Regions from separate parts of the Homo sapiens genome. Here region 2 is linked to region 1. The links are contacts of gene promoters, found by promoter capture Hi-C in blood cells and fetal thymus (Javierre and others, 2016). All regions are on one chromosome and are shown on one strand. Each heading gives the region's core, a stretch centred on a gene start or on the middle of the fragment in contact. The rest is flanking DNA. Distances are from core to core; before and after follow the strand shown.

What was found. Contacts are between HindIII fragments. The CHiCAGO score rates a contact against its expected background, and 5 or more counts as called.
Region 2: a fragment that was not itself captured here is called in contact with the fragment with the promoter of TENM2-AS3 in region 1 in 1 of 17 cell types (monocytes); the score reaches 5.1 in monocytes.

Annotation. Positions count from the first base shown.
Region 1 is chr5:167,951,486-167,958,358 of GRCh38, reverse strand. It overlaps TENM2-AS3 (TENM2 antisense RNA 3), which reads left to right and starts at 4,744. Exons shown (of 3, transcript XR_941186.3): 1 at 4,744-4,967. It overlaps TENM2 (teneurin transmembrane protein 2), which reads right to left. Exons shown (of 31, transcript NM_001395460.1): 6 at 5,537-5,771. The HindIII fragment of the contact is 3,808 bases long and covers 1,518-5,325 here.
Region 2 is chr5:167,687,544-167,693,910 of GRCh38, reverse strand. All of the region lies in intron 4 of TENM2 (teneurin transmembrane protein 2), which reads right to left. Among named protein-coding and RNA genes, the nearest start is that of TENM2-AS4, 31 kb to the right of the region's middle. The HindIII fragment of the contact is 6,342 bases long and covers 1-5,199 here.

The sequences.
Region 1 (6,873 bases), core at 3,495-5,994:
CAAAATAAAGGGATGGAGGAATGTCTACCAAGCAAATGGAAAGCAAAAAACAAAAAAGCAAAGGTTGCAATCCTAGTCTCTGATAACACAGACTTTAAACCAACAAAGATCAAAAAAGACAAAGAAGGCCATTACATAATGGTAAAGGGATCAAAGCAACAAGAAGAGCTAACTATCCTAAATATATATGCACCCAATACAGGAGCACCCAGATTCATAAAGCAAGTTCTTAGAGATCTACAAAGCAACTTAGACTCCCACGCAATAATAATGGGTGACTTTAACACCTCACTGTCAATATTAGACAGATCAACAATCAGAAAATTAAGAAGGATATTCAGGACTTGAACTCAGCTCTGGACCAAGTGGACCTAATAGACATCTGCAGAACTCTCCACCCCAAATCAACAGAATATACATTCTTCTCAGTACCACATCACACTTATTCTAAAATTGACCACATAATTGGAAGTAAAACACTCCCCAGCAAATGCAAAAGAATGGAAATCATAACAAACAGTCTCTCAGACCACAGTGCAATCAAATTAGAACTCAGGATTAAGAAACTCACTCAAATCTGCACAACTACATGGAAACTGAACAATCTGCTCCTGAATGACTACTGGGTAAATAACAAAATTAAGGCAGAAATAAATAAGTTCTTTGAAACCAATGAGAACAAAGACACAATGTACCAGAATCTCTGGGACACAGCTAAAGCAGTGTTTAGAGGGAAATTTATAGCACTAAATGCCCATAGGAGAAAGCAGGAACAATCTAAAATCGACACCCTAACATCACAATTCAAAGAACTAGAGAAGCAAGAGCAAACAAAATCAAAAGCTAACAGAAGACAAGAAATAACGAAGATCAGAGCAGAACTGAAGGAGATAGAGACATGAAAAACCCTTCAAAAAATTAATGAATCCAGGAGCTGTGTTTTGAGAAGATTAACAAAATAGATAGACTGCCGGCCAGACTAATAAAGAAGAAAAGAGAGAAGAATCAAATAGACACAACAAAAAATCATAAAGGGGATATCACCACTGATCCCACAGAAATACAAACTACCATCAGAGAATACTATAAACATCTCTATGCAAATAAACCAGAAAATCTAGAAGAAATGGATAAATTGCTGGACACATACACCCTCTCAAGACTAAACCAGGAAGAAGTCGAATCCCTGAATAGACCAATAATAATTTCTGAAATTGAGGCAGTAATTAATAGCCTACCAACAAAAAAAAAAGCCCAGAACCAGATGGAATCAGAGTTGAATCCTACCAGAGGTACAAAAAGGAGCTGGTACCATTCCTTCTGAAACTATTCCAAACAATTGAAAAAGAGGGACTCCTCCCTAACTCATTTTATGAGGCCAGCATCATCCTGATAGCAAAACCTGGCAAAGACACAACAAAAAAAGAAAAGTTCAGGCCAATATCCCTGCTGAACATCGATGCGAAAATCCTCAATAAAATACTGGCAAACTGAAGCCAGCAGCACATCAAAAAGCTTCTCCACCATGATCAAGTCGGTTTCATCCCTGGGATGCAAGGCTGGTTCAACATACGCAAATCAATAAATGTAATTAATCACATAAACAGAACCAATGACAAAAACCACATGATTATCTCAATAGATGCAGAAAAGGCCTTCAATAAAATTTAACACCCCTTCATGCTAAAAACTCTCAATAAACTAGGTATTGATGAAACATATCTCAAAATAATAAGAGTTATTTATGACAGACCCACAGCCAATATCACACTGAATGGCCAAAAGCTGGAAGCATTCCCTTTGAAAACCGGCACAAGACAAGGATGCCCTCTCTCACCACTCCTATTCAACATAGTACTCGAAGTTCTGGCGAGGGAAATCAGGCAAGAGAAAGAAATAAAGGGTATTCAAATAGGAAGACAGGAGGTCAAATTGTTTCTGTTTGCAGATGATATGATTGTATATTTAGAAAACTCCATCATCTCTGCCCAAAAATCTCCTTAAGGTGATAAGCAACTTCAAGCAAAGTCTCAGGATACAAAGTCAATATGCAAAAATCACAAGCATTTTTATACACCAATAACAGACAAACAGAGAGCCAAATCATGAGTGAACTCCCATTCACAATTGCTACAAAGAGAATAAAATACCTAGGAATCCAACTTACAAGGGATGTGAAGGACCTCTTCAAGGAGGACTACAAACCACTGCTCAACGAAATGAGAGGACACAAACAAATGGAAAAACATTCCATGCTCATGGATAGGAAGAATCAATATAGTGAAAATAGCCACACTGCCCAAAGTAATTCATAGATTCAATGCTATCCCCATCAAGCTACCATTGACTTTCTTCACAGAATTAGAAAAAACTACTTAAAATTTAATATGGAACCAAAAAAGAGCCCATACGGCCAAGTGATATAGCCTAAGCAAAAAGAACAAAACAGGAGTCATCACGCTACCTGACTTCAAACTATACTACAAGGTTACATTTACCAAAACAGCATGGTACTGGTACCAAAACAGATATATAGACCAATGGAACAGAACAGAGGCCCCAGAAATAACACCATACATCTACAACCATCTGATCTTTGACAAACCCGATGGAAACAAGCAATGGGGAAAGGATTCCCTATTTAATAAATGGTGTTGGAAAAACTGGCTAGCTATATTCAGAAAACTGAAACTGGAACACTTCCTTATGCCTTATACAAAAATTAACTCAAGATGGATTAAAGACTTAAACACAAAACCTAAAACCATAAAAACCCCAGAAGAAAACCTAGGCAATACCATTCAGGACATAGGCATGGGCAAAGACTTCATGACAAAAACACAAAAAGCAATGGCAAAGAAAGCCAAAATTGACAAATGGAATCTAATTAAACTAAAGAGCTTCCCCACAGCAAAATAAACTATAATCAGAGAGAACAGGCAATCTATAGAATGGGAGAAAATTTTTGCCATCTATCCATCTGACAAAGGGCTAATATCTAGAATCCACAAGGAACTTAAACAAATTTACAAGAAAAAAACAAACAACCCCATCAAAAATTGGGTGAAGGATATGAACAGACACTTCTCAAAAGAAGACATTCATGTGGGCAACAACCATATGAAAAAAAGCTCATTATCACTGATCATTAGAGAAATGCAAATCAAAACCACAATGAGATAACATCTCATGCCAGTTACAATGGCGATCATTGAAAGTCAGGAAACAACAGATGCTGGAGAGGATGTGGAGAAATAGGAATGCTTTTACACTGTTGGTGGGAGTGTAAATTGATTCAACCATTGTGAAAGACAGTGTGGTGATTCCTCAAGGATCTAGAACCAGAAATACCATTTGACCCAGCAATCCCATTACTGGGTATGAACCCAAAGGATTATAAATCATTCTACTATAAAGACACATGCACACATATGTTTATTGCAGCACTATTCACAATAGCAGAGACTTGGAACCAACCCAAATGCCCATCCATGATAGACTGGATAAAGAAAATGTGGCACATATACACCATGGAATACTATGCAGCCATAACAAAAGGATGAGTTCATGTCCTTTGCAGGGACATGAATGAAGCGGGAAACCATCATCCTCAGCAAACTAACACAGGAACAGAAAACCAAACACCACATGTTCTCACTCATAAGTGGGAGCTGAACAATAAGAACACATGGACACAGGGAGGGGAACATCACACACTGGGGCCTGTGAGGGGGCAGGGGCCTAGGGGAGGGATAGCATTAGGAGAAATACCTAATATAGATGACCAGTTGATGGGTGCAGGAAACCACCATGGCATGTTTATACCTATGTAACGAACCTGCACGTTCTGCACATGTATCCCAGAACTTAAACTATAATAAATTTTAAAAAAGCATAATACCCGATACGTAGCTTTTCATTCCTCAATTGGAATGTTTTTAATGTTTGAACCAAACATGCATGCCAAAACTGCACCTAATAAAATTATAATTATATTCTTAATATCATTAAATACCCAATCCGTGTTTAAATTACCCCAATTGTCTTGACAGATTTTTCGTGTTAGTTTGGATTAAGAGTCAAACAGATGTGGTTGTTATAACGTTTACTTTGTTATGTAACCATTCTTTGTGTGAGAGCCTGTGTGTGTGTTTGTTTGTGTGTGTGTGTGTGTGAGTGAGTGTGTGTGTGCACACACGTTAGGTATTTTTTGCAGAGGAAAATAATAATAATGCAGCACCCTTTGTATTTGGCTTAGTGCTTCATTTTGTGTCATTTTATTTATTTCTGTACCAATTCTTTTAAACTAATGTTGAGATCAAGGATATTTATTAGCTTAGGTTCATTCTTTTAGTTTCTCTTAATAAAGCAAAAATTCTTTAAAAATCCTATAATTGTCAGAAAATAAAATTAAAAGTTTGGAGTGATTATAGTGACAAAGATGTATAACATATTAATTTTCAGGATCTTATAAAAAAACAAAAAAATTATAGGTAAGAAACAACTCCAAATGCTACTTTCAAAATTGCTTCCAGCTGTGTGAAGAGAATTCACTGGCCATTATCAGAAACATTACAGATTATTTCTGTCTTTCCTCAAACCTAAGTTATTAAAGTTTAAAATCTATTTGGGAACTTTATGAAGGGTCAGTATGAATTAGCCCTCCTCTCTGTTCCGTCTCCATGGTTCTTCTAGACAAGGAAACAATAGCATTTGAAACACACAAACCAAGAATGTGCCTGGGGATAGAGCAGCAAGGCTGTTTCAGAGTCTGGCCAACCCACACAGAGCCTTCACTGTCAGTGACATTCCAGCCCCTCCATACCCTGACTGACAGGTCTTCTTTCAGATCATTAAGGTGTATATGGTTTTGGAGAACAGAATCGAAGGTGAAAAAAGGACAGAAGCAAAGGCTACACAAAACAAAGCCAGACCTGGAGATCATTTTCAAACTCTTCCCTCCTCACGTAAGTGCTGCCCCTTTTTTCTTGTTTGTTTTTATACATTACCGTTTGCCCCACAGGCATCAAGCTGTTAGTGTGTACAGGAGGGATTAAAGTGAGACTGCATGTTGGATGAAATATAAATTTAAATTATACTTCTGTCAGTTTGGAATCAGGGATTGTTTCTCAAGGTCTCCCCAAACACTTAATTTCAAATGAGTCTTCATTTATTACTTCAAGAAAGGCCAAATGCATAATTTATCAGCAGCTTTCAGTCAATATACCCTTATAAGCATGTTTCCCATGAGCCTTCGAGTAAAAATATGTTATGCTAATTCTATTAGTTGGGTACACAAGAGCTATCCGAGAAAGTAAACAAGCTTTAAAAGGAGACACATGTGAACGAAGAAATACCTGTCAACCTACTGTCCAGGGTCAAATTACCAAGGGAACAAGGAGGTGGTAAACTTGTCTCATTATTTATACCCAGAGGGTCTCTCCGACTGGAACTCTGAGACACCCAGTGGCTCTGTGTGGTGACTCAGGGGTAAGGTGACACTGAGTGTGACTGTGAGCTGGCGATGGGGACTTACCGGGTCTCCAGTGGCACGTTGCTGTTTAGCACCCAGCTGTCCTGAAGCTGAACGGACTCTGGTGTGGTGGCCAGGTCATTGGGCGCTGGGGCCGGGGCGTGGATCTGACTCCGCCGATTGGTCAGTGAGTTCCTGTTGAGGGAGTTGGCGGACGAGTGGTGATGGGACAGCGTGTGGTTGTGAGGGGGTGGGAGAGGGGGCCTCAGAGTCGACTGGCTGTGGTGGTTCGGAGGGCCTGAAAAAAAAAGGAGAAATGACTGTTAGCGTCTGCAAATTCCAGTCTCAGGCACTCTGCAAACCACTGGAGGAGAGTTTCAAACCAAAGTCTCTAAGCTGACAATTGCTGAAAGCTGCAAGCTAGAGCGACAGATAAGACTGCGGCAGGCATCCCAGAGTCAGTTACAAATAAATAATGGGCTTTGATTTGCATTTATCCACACGCATCAAATGAAGAATAATGAGAAACTAATTTAGCAAAACCAGGTGGATAAGGGCTGACCAGAGGAATTATTTGAAACATATTAATACTGCAATGAAAGTAACATGACATTCAAGGCTGATCGCTGGCGTAGCAAGTCCCTATTCCCTTTCCAGGTAAACTGGTATACTGCACACATTCTTTTCAAAAATTTCATCTTTTGAAGATATTAAGAATATGGAACACTCTAAGTCAGGGAATAGTACCTTTAAATACCTATAGGGACTAGGCAGGAAGGTGGAGTGGGCTAGCTAAGGACTGAGTTGAGGTGAAGAGACTAGGGGGCAGCCCTCACTCAGCACCAGGTCAATTTGATCACGTGGGAATGAGGGAGAGAGCTCAAGGCAGCCGTAATTTCTAATTTCTCTAGAAAAGCTGGAAATCTGGACTTGTAGATAAAATTTCCTAGTTTTTAAAAATGTTGACAATTCAAAATGAGATTTATATATATGTATGTGTGTATACACACATATTTGCGTATGTATGTGTGTATACACACATATTTGCGTATGTATGTGTGTATATATGTGTATATGTGTAATATACACATATATATCTATTTTAAAATGAGAGTGAACAAAACACACCTGTGAGCCCACTCAGCTCAGCAGGTTGCTAACTTCTTTCCTCTGAGAGATGAACCCTGAGGACTCGGTCTCTGGAGAAGGTCATGGCAGATGTTTTCAAGCCATGACCCCGACTCCAAATTGCATCCTGCGTTTTTTTAAATAACAAAATCCTCTATCCTTGCAGGAAAAACAAAGGAGAGCTCTCCCTTGGAAAATATCCCCTTGTAGATATCGCTGTCTCTGACAACTCCACACAAGGTTTTCCTAGCAACCGATTCTCAATCTACAAA
Region 2 (6,367 bases), core at 779-3,278, 260 kb after region 1:
ATCTTTGGGGAACACTTATACCCAGTAAGGAATATTCCAAGTAATTAGCCTTCATATACAGTGATGGTGGCACTACAACATCTTGAACATGCTAGGCAAGGCAGTGGACTCTGAACTGTAAGTGAAACACAGCATTAAGATCTATGTACATATTGGTTTTGCTTCTGGGTATGAAATTCCCTAAGCTATATTTTTTCCACTATCAACTCCAGGCCCTTCACTCTTGCCCATACTTAATAACCTCTGCCTTAATCAAGTGGTTTTTTTTTTTTTTTTTGCCTAGAAATTTCTTAAAATTTAGGTAACAGTGAGGGAGAGGAGCACCGATGTTTGGCATTATGACAGTTACCCAGTCTTCCAGTAACAACTCCTAAGTTTATCCAATGAGACTATTCCTCAGGAAATAAATTTTGAATAGCCCGAATCAAGCTAAAATTGAATCAAGTTCAACATTCTTCTGGAAACCCAATGCATCTTACAGGAAAATTATGTAACTCTATAAAAAGGTATTCATTAAATCCTAACTATTCATATAGCAAGTGTCAAATGAAATTTGGAGAAGGAATTTTTTTAACATATTAAAGTTCCATTATCCTCAATTTTCCATGACCAACCAAACACTTTTGCCTAGCCCCTCTATTGACCAATAGGGGCAGATTTCTTAGTCTTTGGAGATTTGGTACGGCAATTGCGGCAGTGGAATGGTATAAGTCAGTCTTCCCAGAGGTTATGATATTTGCATTTATTGAGCATCGTATATACAGAATGCCAGCCACACTCTACTAATAGCTCAGCACAAACCAATGAATTAGAGAACAGCATTCCTAATTACAGATGAAACATACGAGGCTCTCGCAAAGGCTATGTAAAATGCCCTTTAATCAGTGGCCATTCTGTGATTCAGACCCAGGGCTGTTTGTCTCTAAAGCTCGGGCTCTCAGTTGTTACTCCCTACTGCCAACTCAAGCCATCAAGCCGACCAGGCAGCCCTTTGAGGGACCAGTGGAGGAGCTCAAAATGGCCTCATTCCCAGCATGAGTGCATATGCAACACTATCGTCCATCTGCCACAATTCTACTGTGCATTGATGCCATTCTAGAAGAAAGCCCAAAGGCCATTTGGGCAACCTCTCAACAGTTCACCACTTAATTGTTAATCTAATCGATCTATCTTTTTCTTGGGAAGGAGGCACCTGCTTGAACAGCTGGGTCTCCCTACCTTATTGGATACAGGGTATGAATAAATACAATTGCTTCTGCCAGAAGCACATACACAAACTGGAAGTGGCTTGGAGGTATATATTTTTAAAGTCATGCATATATATTTAATTTATAGTCTGTAACATAAGAAATGTGGTTTAGGTGATGCTGATAATAAAGTTCTGTTTTCAGTAACATTTCCTGTGGGAGTAATTCCCACCTATCAGTCCAGGCACTGGCTGTGTCCAAAATGCCTGAGATGTTAATTAAAAATACAGATTCCTCAGGTTCACCCCAAACAAATGGAATCAGACTGTCCAGGGGTGATGATCTGGAAACTGTGTTTCCAATAAAGCCTCAGGTGACAGTAGTGCACAGCCAGAATTAGGAACTAATTTACTAAGTTAGAGTGAATGGGGGCAATTGCCTTCGGCCAATTCATTTGACCTTTTTAATAATTATTGACCTAATACTATTTGCCAGCACTGTTCTAGACCCTGAGAACAACTTGTGAACAGGGCAGATAAGGTCTGTCCTATGAACTTTACATTATAGTGAGGGGAGACCAGCACTAAGCAAGTAGACATAGGCAGAAATGAGATCATTTCAGGTAGTGGTATTCCGGGGTGGCAAAGAGGGCAGGAAGAAAGAGAAGGCTATCAAGCAATTATTCAGGAAGGCAGAGGGTTTGGTAGCAAGGCAGAGGGTCAAGAAGGAGGTACTCCTCTCCCGCAAATGGTGCTAAAAAATAGGTGAGACTTTAACCACACGGGCAACTTCAGATCTCAGGTCCAAACTACTTAAGATAGTTTTTTGTGTATCACTTACCCTCTGCAAAAGCCAACTGGTTTGGGACCAGGGCTATGCCCCCAACCTCTCTTCCTCTGACTTCTCTTTCCCCTGCCAGCGAGATCCCCCTTGTCCATCAATTTCCTGAAGACTCTCCTGGAGAACTCCCAGTTCTCCTAACCACCAGGAGCCACAGCGTCTCTTCCCTGAAGTCAGGGAGAGTTGGGATTTGAACCAAGTTCTGTTTGAGCGCAATGACCCTACTCTTTCTAAAATACCATCAAGGAATATGTAGTGAAGGACAATTTTCTGGTGGTGATTGCTGAGGGACAGAAGCGGGGAAGGCAGACTGGCACAATAAGATTGGAGAAATGGGATATAAGGGAAAACTCCATCTTCATTTGCACACTATTCAATTTAAACTGATCTTAACTGGGTAAACACCTGCTGGTGGAAGACACAGTGTGACTTGCCTCAGGCTTTACCCAGACTATCGAGCTCTGTCTACTTCCTTCCCTTGAAACTTCCCAGAAGAACAGGAAGAAATTGTTCTTATTTGTTCCAGGTCTTATTTTTTTCTACTCATGAGCCAAGATGCAGAGAGTATTTCTGCAGTCAGAGGAGAGATGGTCCTTACAAATTTTGCAATTGGAAGGATGAGGCAAAATGAGGCCAAAGGTAAATGAAGGTTGGGGTGGGGCAGGGAGGAAAATCACAAGTGTGTGAGACAGAATATATAAGTCATGTTTTTCCAGTGTCTGACACAGTATAAGACATTGGTTGCCCAGAAAATGATACTAAGTGTGACAAAGTGTCAAACAACTTTGGGTCTCCAGAACATTTTCATTAGAAATACTTTGTTTTCAATTTGTCTTCAAAGTTTCTGGTTATATTAAGGAGAAAGTCTCAGTTTGTTCCTAGCATTTCATTGCTTATATTCCTCTCTCTCTCTACACACACACACACACACACACACACACACACACACACACACACACATACTCGCATATACGGATATATATACAAATATATACATATATACGAATATATACGTACATACATATATACAAACATATATGTGTGTGTGATTGCGTGTGTGTAATTTTACTTGTTTATACTGGTATTTCCTTTTAAGCGGTGACAAAATGTTTTTATTTTAAAGACACTTAAGTTGCAAGGAGGAATTATTTTAAATAAAATATCAAGCAATATATTATAGGTGGCATTAAAGATGGGACAGAAATCAAGGTGATAGAAAATGGAAAATGGCTGAAGTTTGATAAATGTTATCTAACCCAATCTCCTTTCTTTACAGATGAAAAAACCAAGGCCTGGATAACTAATTCACAGCCACACAAGTATTTAGTCGCAAAAAATGGTAATAGCATGCAGCTCTCTCTGTTCAGTGCCCTTTTCAGGATGTGAAGAAAGATATCTGTATAAATATGAGAAGTCCTTCCCAAATAAGTAAAGTAACTGGCATAACTGAGGAGCTCTTTGGCAAATCTACTCTGTATACCAACTCAAGAAAAACAGGGAAAAAACCCCAATCTGTTCTTTCTCATTGTGTGCCAATAAAAAGTCACCAGATCTTTCTGAACCTCACTTTCCTCTTCTGTTAAACTTAAAAAAAAATACATAAAAGTAAATAAAAATATAACTTTACTTGTCTCAAAAGAGTTTAAGAATTAAGGATGATAACAATATAATGGCTTGACATGTAGGAAGTGATCATATACAGCATTAATTATTTTTCCTTCTGCCCCTCAAAATATGTTTTGGGGTTTGAATTACTAAAAAAAAAAAAAAAAAAAAAAAAAAGTGTGTTTTTTTCCTAAATTTCGCCTCTTCCATTCCCAGATGATTTTCTTTTCAAATAGGAGGTGAAGTTCCCGGGTCATGGGCCCAAAATTATGGCAAACCAAAAGAACCCTTCACACTGAAAGCAAAATTAACAGCAGCAGCAGAGTCTCTGAGAGTTTAAGAGGAGATGAAGAGCCTGGGCATGGTGGCTCACGCCTGTAATCCCAGCTACTCAGGAGGCTGAGGCAGGAGAATCGCTTGAACCCAAGAGGTGGAGATTGTAGGAGCCAAAATTGCTCCATTGCACTCCAGCCTGGGAGACAGAGCGAGACTCCATCTCAAAAAAAGAAAAAAAGAAAAAAAAGAACAGATGAAGAGGTAAGAACAGTGTTCAGGACTCTCCCCTTTCCCTTCACTGATAGAATTTAGCATAAACGGGACCTACTATTCCAGCTACGCTAGTCTTCTGCAGTGCAAGCCATGCCTGCTAGACCAATGGAGACATTAGGGGAGAAAAGGCCATTTTAAATATTGTATTTTCTTCTTTAAAAAGACATGCAGAGATAAATGAATTCGGTGATCATTTCATTTTTTTGTGTTGAGATTTTTGGTGACCATGAAAATGCACTCCTCGGATCTCTGGCTGTGGGAACAGAGTTGATGGAGGGCCATACTGGCTATCCCCTTCAGATCCACTACTGTGTGTGTACTGAGGTTCCTAGGTCTGTTCTCTGCCAATGACTGGACACAGTGAAGAAACTAATTCATGCCCATTTATGCAGGATGCAGAAAAGCTCGGATGGGCAACTGGGGCTCCAGGACCCCCCAGCGTCCTGGCTGACACTGTTTTAGAATGTGCTGCTGCCTGGGGCTCTTCCTGCCCACTCCTCTTTCCTTCCCACTCTCCCTTCACTGGTGCCAGACTCACATTGCCATCTGAAGGCTGTTCTCGCCTTCTCCTGCACCTCTGCTTTAGTTTTCACAGGTGTTTCCCTCAATAAATTTCTTGCATACCTAATCCTGTCTTGGTATCTGCTTCTCAGAAGACTCAAAATAACAACGTTTTTCCGGAAGTTCAACGACCGCCAAACAGTTAATCCTACACAAGGTTTAAAATGAGTAGCCAGCCAGGCACTCCGATGTGCCCCGTTGCTTATAATGGAAAAGAAAAAAAAATGTTCTGTCAGCATTTAGTGTAAACTTATGACCACATTTAATCACCCAGAGTGTACCTTCACTGACTACCAGATGTGTCATTAACCATTTCTGAAAAAAGTGAAATAAAATCACCCAGCCTGAGAATGCTGTGGAATAAGTCAATACTAACAGATGGTGTTTATTTTGTCACTGCTTGTGTTAAAAAATTACCACCTAGTCCCATCAAATCCATTTCTTTAAGGTGGAAGCTTTATGTAAAAACTGCTACAGAAAATGCAATATTTTATCAGCTGTCATTGAGTTCCTTAAAATATGAGCACTTGTTTTCATGGTTTTCAGTTTTCTAGGACATGGTGCAATACACAGGAGATGGGTTTGTATAAATCTGACACGATGGAGTATTTTGCCAGCAGCTCTGTCTTGCAACATGCAATCTGTTTTGTTTTTCAAACAAAGTTGGTACATGAGTTAGTTGGAACACTAGTGTTTTGAGGATGATGACGGAAATTCTCAATTAAACAACCTCTCCATTGTGGTGCAGTCTACATGCCCAACAATAGGGGATCATTTAAGGATGTGATCACATGCTCTTTTAGATGGAATCACAAGGAGAATCATAAAAAATGATGCCACAGAAGAATACATAAAAACATGGGGGGAAAGTTCACAATACAGTAAGAGAAAAAAGACTATAAAGCAATAGTAAAACGCCACGCCATTGCTGTTTCAAAATACACACAGTGAGAAGCAGTATGACAGAGGGGTAAGAGAAGGTAATCTTGAACCAGTCTTCCTGAGAACAAACTGGGGTCTGCCATTTACTCTGACTACCTTTATAACGTTGCTGAAATCACTTGACTGATCCCTCCCTCAGTTTCTCCATAAATCAAGAATGATAAAAACAATGCACATAGTTCATAAAGGATTAAATGTAAAGTGCCTTTCAAAGTGCCTGGCACAGAGTAACTGTTAATAAATACCGCTATTATTGTTGTAAATTTTATTACAACATTAAATATCATTCTAGAGAAAGTCCTGGAAGCATATTTCTCACAATGTTGATAGTGATTCTTGCTAAATGGCAAGACTGCAGTCTATTTTCAAGTGCTTTTTTTTCTTGGCTTATTTGTTTATTCTAATGTTTTCTCACACATACAAAAATGTACCATTTAAAAAGAAAAAGGGAAAGGAGAGAGACAGAGAGGAAGAAAGAACAATTCTCACTTCCTTTTGCTGTACCAAATTCTGCTACTATAAATAGTGTGAAGTTGGCTGGATAAAGTAGATTTTTTTTTTAAGTTTTAAACTCAAAGTACCTTGATCATTTAGAATTTCTTTTTAAATATCTCAACTGAAACATCTGTGAACTCTCAACGTCAATGCTAGCACAGTAAGTGAGCAAACTTGCATATCCATCA